Linked DNA regions of Homo sapiens: region 1 is linked to region 2. Evidence: promoter capture Hi-C in human tissues and cell types (Jung and others, 2019). All regions are on one chromosome and are shown on one strand. The core of a region is centred on a gene start or on the middle of the fragment in contact, and the rest is flanking DNA. Distances in the headings are between cores, read along the strand shown. Region 1 has its middle 210 kb from the start of KCNB2. Region 2 holds the start of KCNB2 (potassium voltage-gated channel subfamily B member 2).

Region 1 (2,700 bases), core at 93-2,592, 210 kb before region 2:
TTGAAAATGTGGTTTAATCGTATCCGTAGATATGTTTTGTCATAGGTGAGACCCACACTTCAATAGCAACAATAAAAAATGAATTAGTATTTAGATTATAAATTCTAGCACAAACACCATATCTGCTTTAACATTCATTGAATTTATTGAAATAAAACCAGTCATATAAAATGACTTAATGATGATCTTAAGGAATGTCCTGTAGTTCTCAGTGTATGTTTAGGACTTCCTGGTTTCCCACTCTTACCGTAGACCAGGGGATTACAGCCTGTGCCTGTTCCCTTCAGGACCCAGCAGGTGGATGTTGCATGTTACCCTCTCTTATCTTGTAAGTTACTTGCCAATCAAGAAGTTGAACAATCGCCTATGTTCTTCATATAAGACAGCAGAACATTCCAGGCCTCTCTTGGTTCAAAAACTTCTCAGTATTGGCCTAGAGGCTTTGACATCTCTGCCTCACTTGGAATTTGCAGTGGCTCAAAGTCATAGCTTTAGGGATGCAAGAACGTAAGCTTCACCTCGAACATAAACTTCACCTCCAACTTTTGACTCCGTTTATATTTGTCAACTATTTGTTTCTGGCCTGCTTCTTCTCTGTCTTGATTTTTTTTTTGACTGTGCAATTTATTTACTTTAATTCTGCTTTTTTTAAATTATACTCTATGTTCTAGGGTATATGCACAACGTGCAGGTTTGTTACATATATATACATGTGCCATGTTGGTGTGCTGCACCCATTAACTCGTCATTTACATTAGGTATATCTCCTAATGCTATCCCTCCCCCCTCCCCCCACCCCACGACAGGCCCCGGTGTGTGATGTTCCCCTTCCTGTGACATCTTGATTTTGGTGCCAAATTAGTCCTTCACAAGAACCAGTGTAAAAGTAGGCCTTGCTGTTTATTCTAAGTTTTTCTTAAATCTTCTGATTTTCTTCCTAGGTATGTCTGCATAAGCTTAACTATAATCAGTCCCTTTTTAGATCTAAATTTTATTGGTGCTCCTAGTATGTTATCAGGAGAATAGGTTTTGCTGCACATCATAAAAATCTGGATTCCAACAGGCTTAAACTATCCATTATTCCACATAGCAAGAGGTCCAGAGACAAGGCAGCCTTCAAGTTCGGTTGACTTGGTGATGTCATCAAGGATTCAGGATCATTTCACCTCTTCTCATCCATTCTTAGTTTAGGCTCCATTCTCAGGCTGGTAGAAATACAGCTGCAGCAGTTCTAGTTTTCTCATTCTGACACAGTATCTAGAAGGGAAGAGACCATCCTTTCCTTGAGGTCTCTCTTTGAGCCAAGGAAATGTTTCCTGAAGGTCCCTGCAGACTTCCTCTCATGTCTCATTGGTCATATGCCCATGCTTGAACCCCTCACTGGCAAGAGGGATGGATCTGCAATGATGGCCTCAGGTCAGTCACCTGGGTAGAATGAATGTCAGGGAATCAGCCACAATATTCATATGTAGTGAATTTCTTCCAAATTTGTTTAAATAGTGATGATGGTGGCATACTATCTGGTTGTGTGCATAGTGCCATGACATTAGTATGTTGCAAACAAAGAAATATTTTACATGGTATAGTATGCTCCAGATTCTTGGGTGCAGAACTAAAAAGTATATTTGATGCAATGTTCCTGTTACATTTGCAAGACCTACTACATGCTGGAGTTCTCTGATACAATGCTAATAAACTTATCCAAAGCTAAAATTTGAATGAATTGTATTATCTACTTTATCCTTGTAGAATAAGAATGCATCCTTTAAATATTAGTTGTAATAGGAATGTTAAGTGATGCTTTTCACTGTTGCTTAATTTTAGCAGAGGCCACAGGGGCTGAAAAAGAAAAATCAGAGAAATCGGTCTGGCCATGCAGGATATGCTAAGAGACTGTGATTCTGTTTTTGCCAGCATTAATAGATCGTTCTCCTCCATATCACCAAAAAGAAGAAAGTTAAAGGCACCAGTAGATTACTTTGCTGAAGGTTGTCACTGAGTGTGTGTTCCTTTCCTTTGCTATGGGTGAGTGGAGATGGGTGTACTGCAAGAGAGGGAAGCTGCAAGAGCACCACTCACAGAGCTTGGCATATGCCCGTAAGTATTTGGAGGAGGTAGCGACCGGTATTTGATGCCTACCTGAAAATGTCTAATGGGGAAGGGCTTGCCAACCACTCTGAAGGCAGAGCAAGGAGAGCTTACTACACAGTCAGAGGAAGCTGCTTTCCTACCAAAAGCAAGGACAAAGTATGTTTCCCATGATGACCAAAACCCACAGGAGGATGGTGGTCATGAGTCTTCTTAACAGTGATGTGAGTAAGAAGAAAACAAGGAAATTGGAGTGTGGTGGAAGCCAAAGAAAGAATGGGCAGCAATTACAAACGTTTATTAGATATCAAATGCCCATTGGATTTGGTGTGAAGTTCATTGGTACCTTTGGTGGTGAAGGAGCAAGCCAGGCTGTAGCAGACTGCATTTTCACAGTGATCAGTTGTAAGTTTAGTGAAAAGGAATCGAGGGAATTTCCATCTGTATTCATTATTTGTTGCTTCATAACAAGATCCCCCTTACCCTCAAAACCTAACAGCTTAACACAGCACACATTCATTATTTCACAGTACATGTGGGTCACGAATTTAACACACATGGGTCCCCTGCTTTAGGGCTTCTCTGAAGGCAACAATCAAGGTGCCAATCAAA
Region 2 (2,700 bases), core at 186-2,685:
TGAGAACACATGGACACAGGAAGGGGAATATCACACACCGGGGACTGTTGTGGGGTGGGGGGAGGGGGGAGGGATAGCATTAGGAGATATACCTAATGCTAAATGACGAGTTAATGGGTGCAGCACACCAACATGGCACATGTATACATATGTAACAAACCCACATGTACCCTAAAACTTAAAAGTATAATAATAATAAAATTTAAAAAAACACTCAATAAACAGAAGATACAAGGAAAAAATAAATAAATAAATAAATAAATAAATATAAATAAAACAGTGTACTTGGAACTTCCTCAACAGCCATCCTTCTTGGTCTATAGAAACTCAGGAGTCCCAGCTTTAAATAGACTTGTCACGGCCTGCGTTCGTTTCTAAAAGGTGTTTTAAGCTACTTTGTTTTCCTGAAAGCCCCTGTAACCGTGCCAGCTGTCTCTATTTCGTGCCTGTGAAGGAGCACTGGGGTCAGAAATATGTAAGGCTCAGTGTTATTATTCAAGTTCATTGTCTTTACCGAGCCCTGGAAGTGGGTACAGGTCTAAGTGTTCACCCTGCGGCCTCGCCAAGGGGTAACTTGGCATAGTTTTCCAGCTGGTAAGTTGATAGGCAAAGGAAAGAAAGAAGGGTATGAAGAGCGCCCCCGTGAGAAGCAAGGGTTAAGGTTGCCACGGACCCGGCTTTACCCTCAAACCCAGGAAAGCCGGGTCACTTGGGGCTAGGGACGGCCCCCGAGCGAGCGGGGCTGCAGGTGCCGCGAGGAAAGTCAGATCTTATCTGCGCTCCTAGTTATCTCCGCAGCTCTTTCTCCAGGAAAATAATCCTGGCACCACCACTCAGGAGCCATCTGTCTTCGCCCCAGTTCCCCGGGGTCGAGCAGTCAGCCCAGGGTCAGGGTCCTGCTGTGGGCGGGCGGGAGGACAGCCCTGCAGTTGGAAGCAGAAGGGCCGAGGGAATCCCGCGAAGCCGCCGGAGCGCGTCGCGGCGGGGCCTCCCGGGGCTTTCCCGGCCCCGGGTGCGCGGCAGCCGCGGGGGCTGCGTCCCTCTAGTCCAGTGCAGCCGGGTGGGAGCTGCAGAGCGAAGCAGGTGGGTGTGGAGCCAGGCCCGGGGCAGCAGGAGTGGCTGGCGCGCGGAAGCTGAGGGAGGCACCCCGCCGAGGTGTGGGCGGTGCCTGCCCGCGCCCCAGCCGCGCCCTGGGCACCAGAGCGCTGTCCCCGGCCGAGCGCACAGCTCCGGCGCCGCGAGGCAGAGCCCCGGCGTCCCCGGCGGTGCGCTGCCGGCTCGCGCAGCCCAGCCATCCCGCCCCGCCGCCCACCTTGACAGCCGGGAGCGCTGAGGAGGAAGAGGGGGAGGGGGAGGAGGAAGAGAAGGCGGCGGCCGCTCCAGCCCGCGGGTGCGCGGAGCGCGGGAGGAGGCGGAGCGGGAGGCTGGGGTGGCCGCAGCCCTGTGTGCGCGCCGGGCCGGCTAGCTGCGGGGCGGGGGAGCGGCGCCCCAGAGCGCCCCGCCTAGCCTCCCGCGCGCAGCCTCTACCCTGCTCCGCCACAGACACACACCCACCAAGCACCCACCGCCCTCCGCCCTCCGCCCTCCGCCCCCGCGGCCGCCGCCGCCGCTGCGCCTCGGGCAGCCCCAGCGAGCGGCAACTCCCGGGCTGGCGCGGCTCGCTTTCTGGCTCCTTCCGCGCGGCGAGCTCAGCCCCGCTCGATTTTTCCTCTTCTGTTCCAGCCCTCTCTTGTCTGGGTGGCTGTGGCGGCGGCAGGGGGATGGGGACCCCGTGTGGGGAAGGGGTTGAAGATCGATGAAGATTATTGTTCTTTTAAAGGATGCCTTAGCTTCCTCCCGCCGCCTTTCCTCTGAGCCTTCCTACTAGAGACCGTGAACCAGAGTCAGGGATGTAAAGACAGGGGGAAAGCACGCCGGGAGCTCCAGCCAGCCGGGGAGACCCTCCTCTCTGTGGAGGGGAGGGGGATTTCCAGCGACAGGTCATTGGCGAAGGGGATCGTCGCGGGGAGAGGCTCCCCGGAGGGAGCGGGGAATCCCACAGCCCTTTGTGGTGCCCGAGCCCGTGCCGCCTGCTGAGCGGGGTCTGTGGGAGCTAGGTAAGTGGCGGGGGCATTGCTGCTCCCCGAAGGGGGTCTTCCTTTAAGAATGAATCATCGCGGCAGCCTAGCCAGACTTGAGTTGCTAAAGGAATTGGAAACTGCCATATGGCGCCCAGTGGACTTACACACAAAGCTGACTTAGCCCTGAGAGGGTTTTTAATGTCAGGCTCCTTCCCGGTGGGGAAGGCGCTCAAGTATTAGCCCCTGAAAAGCTTCCCAGCAGCCTGACTGGGAAGGGATGGGGATGTTATTTCTAGGAGCCGAGCTCTTGTTGCCTTCCGTCCATTTGTTGGTAAATGCCACACTCACATGCACACACTTGTGGGACTGGATTTAGGGAGTGTGATGTCTCTGATGTATGAACGATCCTCAGAACACAGAGACATGCGTGCATTTTATTCTTCAAGCGGTGCGCGGTCTCCGTTCTGTAGCACGATTCCTGAGAGGGAGAACGGGTCTCTAAGGAAAGAGCTTCATGGCTGTTTCCAACACACTCTGCTAGGGGACTTGGGAATACGTTTGCCCTGAATAGCACCAAAAGACATCGACCATTTGCCTCATCATTTGCTCCCGATGCTTAATGATCCTCTTCAAAATAGTA

Evidence for each region. The method cuts DNA at HindIII sites, captures the fragments that hold promoters and counts their contacts. A contact is called where the count stands out against the background at its distance.
Region 1: a fragment that was not itself captured here is called in contact with the fragment with the promoter of KCNB2 in region 2 in 2 of the 25 tissues and cell types used here (H1 embryonic stem cells and thymus).

The regions. Positions count from the first base shown.
Region 1 is chr8:72,328,310-72,331,009 of GRCh38, forward strand. No RefSeq gene overlaps it. Among named protein-coding and RNA genes, the nearest start is that of KCNB2, 210 kb to the right of the region's middle. The HindIII fragment of the contact is 5,726 bases long and covers 1-2,700 here.
Region 2 is chr8:72,535,790-72,538,489 of GRCh38, forward strand. It overlaps KCNB2 (potassium voltage-gated channel subfamily B member 2), which reads left to right and starts at 1,436. Exons shown (of 3, transcript NM_004770.3): 1 at 1,436-2,096. RefSeq lists silencers at 1,026-1,155, 1,166-1,215, 1,226-1,285, 1,446-1,495. The HindIII fragment of the contact is 6,044 bases long and covers 1-2,700 here.